2 separate regions of the Homo sapiens genome follow, and region 1 is linked to region 2. Evidence: promoter capture Hi-C in 16 types of primary human blood cells and fetal thymus (Javierre and others, 2016). All regions are on one chromosome and are shown on one strand. The core of a region is centred on a gene start or on the middle of the fragment in contact, and the rest is flanking DNA. Distances in the headings are between cores, read along the strand shown. Region 1 has its middle 64 kb from the start of EIF5. Region 2 holds the start of LINC00677 (long intergenic non-protein coding RNA 677).

Evidence for each region. The method cuts DNA at HindIII sites, captures the fragments that hold promoters and counts their contacts. A CHiCAGO score of 5 or more calls a contact.
Region 1: a contact is called between a fragment that was not itself captured here and the fragment with the promoter of LINC00677 in region 2, in 1 of 17 cell types (M1 macrophages). The highest score is 5.8, in M1 macrophages.

What each region holds. Positions count from the first base shown.
Region 1 is chr14:103,267,321-103,273,429 of GRCh38, forward strand. No RefSeq gene overlaps it. Among named protein-coding and RNA genes, the nearest start is that of EIF5, 64 kb to the right of the region's middle. The HindIII fragment of the contact is 448 bases long and covers 3,443-3,890 here.
Region 2 is chr14:103,120,038-103,125,616 of GRCh38, forward strand. LINC00677 (long intergenic non-protein coding RNA 677) reads right to left here and starts at 2,872. Exons shown (of 2, transcript NR_138038.1): 1 at 2,572-2,872; 2 at 812-994. It overlaps TNFAIP2 (TNF alpha induced protein 2), which reads left to right and starts at 3,424. Exons shown (of 12, transcript NM_006291.4): 1 at 3,424-3,914. RefSeq lists enhancers at 2,355-2,887, 2,888-3,421 and silencers at 3,086-3,365, 3,666-3,715. The HindIII fragment of the contact is 18,340 bases long and covers 1-5,579 here.

The DNA of each region.
Region 1 (6,109 bases), core at 2,417-4,916, 150 kb after region 2:
CATAAAGAACTGCCTGAGACTGGGTAATTTATAAAGAGGCTTAATCGGCTCACGTTCCCACAGGCTGTCCAGGAAGCACGGCTGGCTAGGCCTCGGGAGACCTTCCATCATGGTGGAAGGTGAAGGGGAAGCCGGCACATCCTTTGAGGCTGGAGCGGGAGGAAGAGGGTGAAGGGGGAGGTGCCACACACTTTTAAACAACCAGATCTTGTGAGAACTCAGTCACTATCACGAGAACAGCAAGGGGGAAATCCGCCCCCTTGATCCAATCACCTCTGTCCAGACCCCTCCTACAATTTAACATGAGATGTGGCTGGGGACACAAATCCAAACCATTCCATTCTGCCCCAGCCCCTCCCAAATCTCATATCCTTCTCACACTGCAAAATACAATCATCCCTTCTCAACAGTCCCTCACGTCTTAACTCATTTCGGCATTAACTCAAAAGTCCACAGTCCAAAGTCTCATCTGAGACAAGGCCAGTCCCTTCCACCTATGAGCCTGTAAAATCAAAAACAAATTAGTTACTTCCAAGATACAATGGGGGTACAAACATTGACTAAATACTACCAATCCAAAAAGGCAAACTGGCCAAAACAAAGGGGCTACAGGCCCCATGCAAGTTTGAAACCCAGCAGGGCAGTCATTAAATCTTAAAGCTCCAAAATAATCTCCTTCAACCCTGTGTCTCGTATCCAGGCCACATTGGCTCAAGGGGTGGGCTCTGCCCTGTGGCTCTGCAGGATGCAGCCCCCACAGCTGTGGTGGCAATGGGGAGCCAGGTGTGCTGATTTGCAGGCCCCTGGGTGGCATATGCAGGTGCTAATGGTGGTGAGTCCAGATAGGCCAGTCCTTGGGCCTCCAGCTTGCTCAGGCGCCACCAGTAGGCAGGGCAGGTGGGCTCCTGGGCAGTGTGTGTGGCAACAATGGTGGCAGAAGTGATGGTGGGCCAACCCTGGAGCCATCAGGCAGCATGTAGCAGTTGGGTGCTTTTCCATCCATCCCAATCACGGAAAATTCCCGATTCCTGTAGAATTAAAGGAGAATTACGAAGAGAATATCAAGATATGCAATGACAGAGCCTTCTGGGTGTAGCTGCTTCCAGCTACGGGGTTTACGCAATAGAGATATGACCAACAACAATTAGCATCACTTCAGAAAAAGTACTAAAGAGACCACAGAAAGCTTTGTGGAGGCGCTGGCTCACACCTGTAATCCCAGCACTTCGGGAGGCCGAGGCAGATGGATAGCTTGAACCCAGGAGTTCAAGACCAGCCTGGGCAACATGGCAGCAACATCCCCTCTCTACAAAAAAATTTAAAAATTAGGGCCAGGAGCGGTGGCTCACCCCTGTAATCCCAGCACTTCGGGAGGCCACGGCGGGTGGATCCCGAGGTCAGGAGATCAAGGCCATCTTGGCCATCATGGTGAAACCCCATCTCTACTAAAAATAGAAAAAATTAGCTGGGCATGTGCTTGTAGTCCCAGCTAATCGGGAGGCTGAGGCAGGAGAATTGCTTGAACCCGGGAGGTGGAGGTTGCAGTGAGCCGAGATCGTGCCACTGCACGCCAGCCTGGCGACAGAGCAAGAATCTGTCTCAAGAAAGAAAAAAAAAATTAGCCGAGTGTGGTGGCACATGCCTGTAGTCCCTACTACTTGGGAGGCTGAGGTGGAGGATCACCTGAGCCCGAGAGATTGAGACTGCAGTGAGCCGAGTTTGCACCACTGCACTCCAGCCTGGGTGACAAAATGAGACCCTGTCTCAAACAATGAATAAATAAAAGCTTTGCAGCCCAACTAAAGTCTCCAGATTCCTTACTTTAAATGGTTTTAGCAAAATGCTTAGGTTTTATATAGCTAATTGCTTAGGTTTTATATAGCTAATTGCTACAAATGTAACTAAAACCAAGATTGCAGTAGCTCAATGTATAGAACTTACAGATAAGCCAATTTTGTAACCTTGCATTTTGGCTTTGGTTTTTGGCTCTTACATTGCTTAAAGTTTTTCAGGTTAATGAATGTCTGGCTGCCTCCATTCCCATCTGGCCTAAAATGTTTAATTGACTGCAAGTCTTTTGGCTGTAAGACCCTTGGCCATGGGGTTCCGCCGAGGGCCTGGATGGACCTGGGGCAGGGAGCCACACCACCCTGGCAACGATATGGGACAAAATTAAAGTTTAGCCACTGATGCTGCCTCTGGAAAATCTTGACCAAAGTGAGGAAAAGAGACATAAAAATTATATCCTAAGCCCCCAACCAACTGAACTGAGCCCTTCTTGGCCAAGGGGACCCCAGAGATACCTTGAAAACTGAGTTCCAGGCCATGATGGGAACGCAGGTCAGACACGGGAGGGCAGGTCAGACACGCTCCCCTTTCCCTCTCCAGCTGCCCTTAGGCTTTCTCCCCTGCGGACTGCGGTCCACAGACCCCACCCCGACATCAACCAGACTCTGACGCTGCCGCTTCCTTTTGCATTTTCAATACAACCTTACCAACCAGCATCCCCTCCTGATAAGAGACCACCGACCTCAGAGTGGTTCTGGCCAGTCTACGGAGGATGCACAGTGAGGGTTTTCTCTGCTTCCCCTTTTGACATCAGAGGCCCAAAAACTCCACCCTTGGACCATGTGAAGGCTACCATTTTTTGAACGTGGGTCCCATGGAGAGGCATGAAGCTCAACTGTGTATGTTCATATTTCTCCTCTCATAAATATTCATGGATCCTCCTAAAGCTTATTGAATATGTATATTTGGCCACCCTGGTCAATATAAATCCCTGTGTTACCATTCCTACCCTCCAAATATCTGTTTCTAGCTTCCAGCCAGAGGCTATGCTTCCCAGCCTGTCAGAACGGCCACCTTCAGGCTGCAACCCTTTAGGAGGAATAAAGCTATCCTTTCCAAACTAGAAAAAAAAATTACTTGTGGGAGTACTTTGGGTTTTGGGGGGTTGTTTTGAGACAGAGTCTCGCTCTGTCACCCAGGCTGGAGTACAGTGGCGTGATCTCGGCTCACTGCAACCTCCGCCTCCCGGGTTCAAGTGATTCTCCAGCCTCAACCTCCCAAGTAGCGGGGATTACAGGCACATGCCACCACCCCTGGCTAATTTTTGTATTTTTAGTAGAGACGGGGTTTCACCATGTCAGCCAGGCTGGTCTCAAACTCCAGACCTCGTGATCCGCCTGCCTCAGCCTCCCAAAGTGCTGGGATTACAGGTGTGAGTCACCGCGCCTGGCCCAGCAATTCAATATTTTTAAGATTTTTAAAAATATGTATTTTATCCAGTTAGTTGTTCTCATTGGGAAATAGTTTAGCCCAGAGTTACTGGAGACAAGAGTTTTACTCCATGCCTGTCCCCCACCTGATTGCCTAGCTGGAAATAGAGGTCTTTGTTTTTATGAGCTGCCTGAAATCCTAAACAGAAGGAAGTGCCACTCAAAGCTTCCTTTTATAACCAATCCATATCCCAAACTGGCATATTTGGGGGTGGCATTTCCTGAACTTCAGTGTTAAGGATTTCTGCCACAGATGAAGGGGGTGTTCTGCCTGGGGGGTGTCAGGTCGCAGGGCCTGAACACCCTCTTCCCAGCCACCATCTGGGGAGACAGTTCTGCTTTCCAGGTGTTACTGAAAGTACTGAAATTCTTGTGGGGAAACTGAAGAACTGCCTGAGGCCTAAAAGACATACAGCCAGTCCCCGAAAGGAGTGTTGAGGACTGAAGTCTTGCCGGGTCTCAGCGCAGTGAAAGGTTTTTTGGTGTTTGTTTCTTTGTTCATTTTGAGGGGACCTTTTATTCTACCACAATATCACACACAATATAAACTGAATACCAGGGTCCTCCACAAGCCACTGCGCGGGCTAGCATTTTCCCTCGACAAAGCTAGGAAGCTTATACAGATAAAAGTTAGTTTTGAGTTTTCACATTTGATTTTGAAAAATGTTCAAATGCCTAAGGCAGAACTAAAGTCTCAGCTCTGCGAGTCCATGGGCTGTAGAGAATAATAATGCCTGGAATTCACATACAGACACACACACACACACACACACACACACTCCCACACACACCCCCCCACACCCCCCCCACACACACAACCCCCCCCACACACACACACTTCCCACACACACCAAAGCCAAACACCAGCAACCTTCCCAAGGTTTTGTTTGTTTGTTTTTGAGACGGAGTTTCACTCCTGTTGCCCAGGCTGGAGTGCAATGGCGCGATCTCGGCTCACAACAACCTCCGCCTCCTGGGTTCAAGTGATTCTCTTGCCTCAGCCTCCCAAGTAGCTGCGATTACAGGCATGTGCCACCATGCCCGGCTAATTTTGTATTTTTAGTAGAGACAGGGTTTCTCCATGTTGGCCAGGCTGGTCTTGAACTCCCGAACTCAGGTGATCCGTCCACCTCAGCCTCCCAAAGTGCTGGGATTACAGGCCTGAGCTACCACACCCAGCCAATTCCCAAGGTTTTACAAACACAGCTAGAAAGGCAAACAAAAAGAGCATCTTTTCTTTACATAATTTCATTCTGTTTAACATTTGCATTATTGTCAAAATATTCAGGTGTTCAGGGAAAAAATGTTGCTTCAATAAACTACAGGGGAAATAATGCTGTTAGTTGTAGAAGCTGATTTTGCTCCATTCTGACAAAAAAAAAAAACAACACCTTTTGAAAGTACAGGGACATTTCAGCAAGTAGGTCAGGCATTTTATATATGTAAATGAAAAAAAAAACAAATCCACCCAGAAAGCTGCAATTCTAGGTTGTAAATGAATCTAAAACGTGTGAAAAACTGTTCAGTTCAGTGCCCTGAAATCTATTTCAAACATAACTGTAACTCTTACAACATTAAGGCTTAGGTCACTGCCAGGCACAGTGGCTCACGCCTGTAATCCCAGCACTTTGGGAGGCCAAGGCAGGAGGATCACCTGAGGTCAGGAGTTCAAGACCAGCCTGGCCAGTATGGTGAAACCCCGTCTTTACTAAAAATACAAAAATTAGCCGGGCGTGGTGCCGCGTGCCTGTAGTCCCAGCTACTTGGGAGGCTGAGGCAGGATAATTGCTTGAACCCGGGAGGGGAGGCAGAGGTTGCAAGGAGCCCAGATCGCACCACTGCACTCCAGCTTGGGCGACAGAACTAGACTCTGTCTCAAAAAAAAAAAAAAAGTATAAGGGTCACATCATACACAAAAGAGAACACCCATCTCTACAGGAGTGCCGGCTCCAGAGTCTTCGGGGTCTCAGAGAAGACCCAGAAACAAGGTCTCCACGAATTAAAGCACCATCAGGAGAGAAAGACCATCCGGATATAGTCAATCAGTGCGAGGCAGCCACATACACAAGTAACCCTTGTTTAAGCGTCAGTGTACGCATTTTCGGTTACATCTTATACGGCACTATGTACGTGAGTAACGCTTAGCTTCAGTTTAAAAAATACAAGGACGGACACTGATTAAGAAAAGCAATTTTTGGCCGGGCGCGGTGGCTCACGCCTGTAATCCCAGCACTTTGGGAGGCCGAGGCAGGCAGATCACAAGGTCAGGAGATCGAGACCATCCTGGCTAACATGGTGAAACCCCGTCTCTACTAAAAATACAAAAACAAAATAGCCAGGTGTGGTGGCGGGCGCCTGTAGTCCCAGCTACTCGCGAGGCTGAGGCGGGAGAATGGCGTGAACCCGGGAGGCGGAGCTTGCAGTGAGCTGAGATCGCGCCACTGCACTCCAGCCCGGGCGACAGAGCGAGACTCTGTCTCAAAAAAAAAAAAAAAAAAAAAAAAAAAAAAAAAAAAAAAAAAAAAAAAAGGAAAGAAGGAAAGGAAAGGCAAGGAAAAGGCAAGGAAAAGGCAAGGCGGCGCAAGGCGGGGCAAGGCGAGGCAAGGCAAGGCAAGTGGGGCCTGTCCTCCACCTGGGCTCCAGCGGTGACACAGGACGTCCCGCCGCTTCCAGCTTCCGCGTACCTGCGCGCACACCGGGTCCCCCGCGGCCTCGCCCTCGTCCATGACCTCCAGAGCCCCGCGCCGCGCCCCCGCCCGATCCGCGGAGGCCTCCAAGCAGCCGATGCCCTCGCCAAGCCTGGGTGGTCCAGAAGGACGCGCCCGCTCCGG
Region 2 (5,579 bases), core at 1,622-4,121:
GAAGCAAGATAACACTGTGCTTAGTGAAGGGGCTCCTAGCTTCACCACTGGCTGGCACATGACTGGACCGCTCTGTGCCTCAGTTTCCTCATCTGTGAAAAGAAGAGAGTTAGTGCCCACTTCATTAGGCTGTCCGATGAAATCGGCTAATGTATACAAAACACTTAGAACAACGCCTGGCACCGGTGGAGATCAACAAACATCAGCAGTCTACCCAAAAGAATTGAAAGCAGGAACGTGAACAGATATTTGCATACCCGTGTTCTTTTGTTTGTTTGTTTTTGTTGTGAGACAGGGTCTTACTCTGTTGCCCAGGCTGGAGTGCAGTGGTGCAATCATGGCTCACTGCAGCCTTAACCTGCCAGGCTCAGGTGGTTCTCCCACCTCAGCCTCCCAAGTAGCTGGGGCTACAGGTGCACCCCATCACACCTGGCTAATTGTTTGTATTTTTGGTGGAGACAGGGTCTCACTATGTTGCCCAGGTTGATCTTGAGTTCCAGAGCTCAAGCGATCCACCCGCCTGGGCCTCCCAAAGTGCTGGGATTACAGGCATGAGCCACCACACCTGGTATACACACCCATGTTTTATAGCAGCACTGTACACAGCAGCCAAGAGGTAGCAGCAATCCCAGTGTGCACAGAGAGATGAATGAATGCACAGTGTAGCCCATCCATACAATGGAATATGATTCAGCCTCAAAAAGGAAGGGAATTCTGATACCTGCTACCACATGAATGAATCTTGAAGGCATTATGCTGAGTGAAATAAACCTGACAACGCCCTCCTGGCAGATGCAGACACAAAAGGATAAACGCTGTGTGACTCTATTTATTTGCAGTACATAGAATAGTCAAGACCACAGAGACGAAAGGTAGAATGGCGGTTGCCAGGGCCCGGAGGAGAGGGAAAGAGGAGTTAGTGCATAGTGGGTAGAGTTTCCGTTTTGCCAGGTGACGATTTCTGCAGGTGGAGGGTGCTGTTGGTTGCACGACCCTGTGAATATACTTAATGCCACTGAACTGTGCACTTAAAAGATTATAAATTGCATTATGTATATTGTACCATAATAATTTTTAAACAGTCAGCTGTCATTGCTCTGGCAGACAGAAGGGAGGGAACATCCCATGTGTCGTAGCCTCTGAGGCCCTGGGTTGCGTGCGAGGAGCTGACCGTGGCTCCTGGCCAGGTGCTGGCACACTCGCCTTCTAGGCTAAATGGAGAGGTCATTGCCAGTCTGCTCCTGTCTGCTGCCCTCCCCACCAGGCAGAGCCCCCTGCTCACTGCCCCTGGCCTGTGCCCTGGGGAGCTGGGGAATGGGACAGCCGCTGGCCACTGGTCACAAACATCGCCACCCAGCATGTGATGCTGGCTTCCTGCTGGGGAGGAGCCGTAGGCTGGCCTTTGGCTCCTCTGGAAGTGCCTGGCCTCTTGGGAACTGCTTTCTGCATCTGCGAGAAGAGGGTAAGGACTGCTCCTGCCCTATGGGCCCCATTGGCTGTCATCCCTTGGGCCTCCATGCTGCCCCATTTTCAGAAGACTTTCCTTGTCTTGAGGACTTCACGTATGTTACCATTGACCCTCATGCCTGAGCTTAGAGAGGGGAAGTGACTGGTGCAGACACAAGTCCAAGGCAGCAGCCTCGTTTCCCAATCCCCAGCCGGTGCTCTGGGCGGGCCACTGCCGTCAGTGGGGGACAAGGGTGGCAGCCCCGCCTCAGCCCTGCAAAGCCCGTGGAGACCAGGGGCTGCCTTCGAGGGGACAGTGGGGCCTAAGGCCTGACAACGCCCTCCTGGCAGATGCAGACTTCCCGAGCAATTTCCCGATCTGCTTGGGAATGGGAGGGGGGGTGAGGGGGTGGGGTGGGGGAACAGAGTCTGGCAGGAGAGGCTTGTGGGGATTGCACAATGAGGCCACAGCAGCCAGCCGTGAAGGCAGCCACCGGCCAGGGCCCCTCAGCCCGTATCCTCATCGCCCCTGTGTGGATGAACTCCATCTGCGCGGTGCCGGTGGAAGGACCCTCCCAGCCCCGGGACACCGCGGCTCTGTGGACTCATCTGAAAAATGTCATCCCTGGAGTCCTAGGAGAGAAGGGGTGGGGTTGGCAGCCTTAACGCCCCATCCTGCATCCTGGCGGCCTCCCGCATCCGCTCCCCCACAGGTTCCCCAGAGACAGGATGATGGATGGCAATCCGAGTGCAAACCTGGCGCTTGGCCAGCACTCTGGAAGAGGAAGTTCTCAGTTCCCAGGGCACCTGAACCCACAGCCGCCCCCACTCCGCTGGCCCCCCTGGTCCTGGAAGACCTGTTACTAGGCTGCAGAAGGGGTGGCGGAGTGATCAGGGGGCGGGGAAAGAGGCCAAACAAAAGAGGGGAGGAGCAGAGGCCCCAGTGAGGCAGGAGGGAAGCCCCTGCCCAGCGGGAAATTCCTAAATGTCTGGGTCCTTTCCAGAGGGCAGGAATTCCTAGCCTAGAGTGTGAAATAAGGAAGGAAGTGAATCTCCAGTGGGTTCCCTTCACAGCCCCTTTCCATCCTCCCCACATGCCCCACCCCCACATCTCCCAAAACAAACCCTGAGAGACGGTGTGGATGGGGAGACAGGCCTGGAAACGGAGGCCTGCGCTGAATGGGCAAAGCCGGGTTGATGATCCAGACGAGGCCCTGGAGTCTGGGCCTTGGGCCCCTCCCCTTCTGCCTGCTCCGGCAGCCTGTGGGTCCAGCCCCAGCCCCAGAGGGGGAAAGGCTCCAGTGGGAGTCCCATAGGCCTGGCTAGGAACCCCACTCCGCTACTTAAAGTGGTGTGAGCCGGGTCAGCCACTTCACCTTTCCGCATTTACGCATTTCAAGCAAGGCTTGACGACCGGAGGGGCTCAAGGCCCTGTGCACAGCCGCGCGGCCAGCACTCTGGCCAGCCTTGTAGCCCCCTTCCCCTTAGGGGGCCTCCTTCAGGAAGCCCCCGTCCCCTGCCTCCTTGTGGCCACGGTGACACCGGAACACTTCAGAGGGGCGGCTGGGGAGTTGGGGTGGGACGGGCTCTCCCGCAGCTGGAGCCGGTGTGTGACGCGGGAACGCGGCCAAGCGCGCCCCATCCAGGCGGCCTATCAGGAGCCGTCGTCGGACAATGGCTCCGCGCCTGACAACCCCGTCGTCCCCGTGCCGTCCCCCGAACTCCACATACCATGCGACGCGCGGCCAGCCCCCCGCCCCTGCCCGGCTGCTGGGAGGAAGTGACAGCGCCCCGCATCCCCCGCTGGGCAGGCCGGGCGCGCCCAGCCCCTGGGACGCAGGGACACAGCCGGGCCGCGCTGGGCCTTGGCCTCCGCCCGCGGGTTTTCCGCGGTTGCGGCGGGGCGGGGAAGGAGGGGCGGGCGGGGCGGGGCTGACTCTGCGACTATTTCAGGCCTTGCGGAACCCGGGCCAGGACAGTGGCGGCCAGGCCGGGACACGGTAAGTGACCTCCGCTTCCACACGTCCATTCCCCGCCGCTCCGCGCGGCTTCTCGCCCGCCCCTACCCCGAGGCCAGGCCGGATTCCCCGAGGAAAGAGCCTGTCGCCGCGGCGGGGACAGGAGGGGGCTGGACGCTTCCAGGGAAACTGAGGCCCTGGCGCGCCCAGCGTCCGCGCGTCCGGGCGCAGAGGGGCCAAGGCTGGCTGAGGGCCCGGGCCTGCCAGAGGCAGGGAGGGCGGGGCTGGGGCAGGCGCAGGGGTCTCCCCTCCATTACAGCAGAAAGGCCCCAGGTCCGGCGTGACTCCCCGGCCGGGCGACACAGGCCGAGTCACTTCCTCGCCCGTGCCCGGGTGTCCTCATCGGGGGATGGGTGCGCCTTCCACATCCTGCCCAGGACTGAAGGAGCCGGGCCCAGCGAGCTCCCGGGAGGTGTGTGGACATCAGCCCTGACGGGGAAGGCGAGCCAGGTCAGTGGACCTGAGGAGAGGCCGGGCAGCAGGAGGCTGGGGGGCGCTGTTGAGCCACTGGCTGTGACCCCTCTACGAGCCTCCCAGCAGGCCCCTTCCTGCCTCAGTGGGCCCAACCAGCGGCAAGGCTCAAAGGAACGCCCCTCCTCCCCTTCTTCCTTTCTGGCTGCACCGGCTCGCTGCTGCCTGCAGGACAGACTCAGGACACAGGAGACTCACCCCCACTGAGGCCCAGCTAGGCGCCCAGCACTTGGCTGTGCGGTTTGGCCACATCCCCTCAGCAGCACTGTGGGGTGGGGGTCCTCATCCCCTTTTCAAAGACGGGGAAACGGCGGCTTGTGAAGGAAGGAGGTGTGCAGTCCACACACTAGTGAGAAGTGTGCTGAGCCCACACCGAAAGCGTTTCTCTTTCCATGGCACCAGCTGCCTCGGAGAGCGGAGACCTGGGGCGAGGCCCAGGGGGCTGCAGCAGGACCTTCAGGCGCTCTGGGTTTCGTGTCACAGAGGGGAGAAGGCGGTGATGCTGTGGGGGTCCTGCGGGAGCTGTGCCTGGAGGTGGGACAGAGCCTAGTACATGTGGGGTGGGACAGGGAAGGCTGAGGTGAGGCTGGCAGGGAGCATTGCTGGTAAGGGCCACCCTCCCCCACCCCAGGAGAATGGCAGAGGTGGGGCCTGGGCACCCAGGGTGGGGCTGAGTGGCCCTGCCAGACAGACCAGCTCCCGCGGGTGCTAGGCATGCACCTGAGAGGGGCTGGGAAGCGAAGTTGGGGCACCGGGTGGGGAGCAGAGGTGCCCCATGGCCTTGCCCCTGGGGCTCCCTGGAGCATGCCCCTCTTGGTCCTGGAGTGGAATGCTCAACCCAAATGGCACTAGGGAGGCCAGTGCCATCCAGGAGTGTGGGACTCTGCCCAGGGCACTGGGTGAGCATGGCAGGGGCTGGGGGTGGGAGGAGCCCAGGCTTCCTGTCCCTCAGGTGGCTCTGGCCAAGCCCCTCCAGGATGGGGACAGGGTAGTGGGGCTGGTGGAGGCAGCGGGGCCATGGGAAGAGTCGGATGGGCCCAGTCTGAGCCTCCATGGCTGCTGTGCTTGGGGCAAACACCTCCTACTCAGCCTCAGTTTCTCCTTCTGGATGGTGGATCATCCTGCCTGCCTTGCAGGGCTGTTTCAGGGGTCACTTGAAGTTACCATGATACATGAGACAAGGCTGCATGCATTTAGTCTTGGGGTGGGGCAGACAGGTGGCATCAAGGTTACAGGTCACCCCAGTTCTTGGGGAGGCCCAGCCCCTGCCTGCTTCCCCCTTTCAGATCAGCCATGCTCTTCTCCAGTGGACCTGGCCTTGCTCTGACAATGGTCAGGTGCTGGGCAGGGACTCTGGGGAAGCTCGGGTCTTGCCTCTCTGGATGTAGCTTGCAGGATAGCTGGGGATGTGGAGGCAGGGGAAAGCTGGGCTCTGGGACCGGGTGGCCTGAGTTCCAAGCCCAAGCTATTGACTATAGGGACAGTTTAAGCCGAAATAACACCCTTCCAGATGAGAGAAAGGAAGAGATGGGATGGGCACCCAGGAAGGCTGCAGAAACTGGAAGCCTTTGTGATGATGCTACGATCCCATTTGGGAGGGGGTGGGAGCCAGGAAGCCTGGGTTCTGGACCCGAGTTGCTGTGT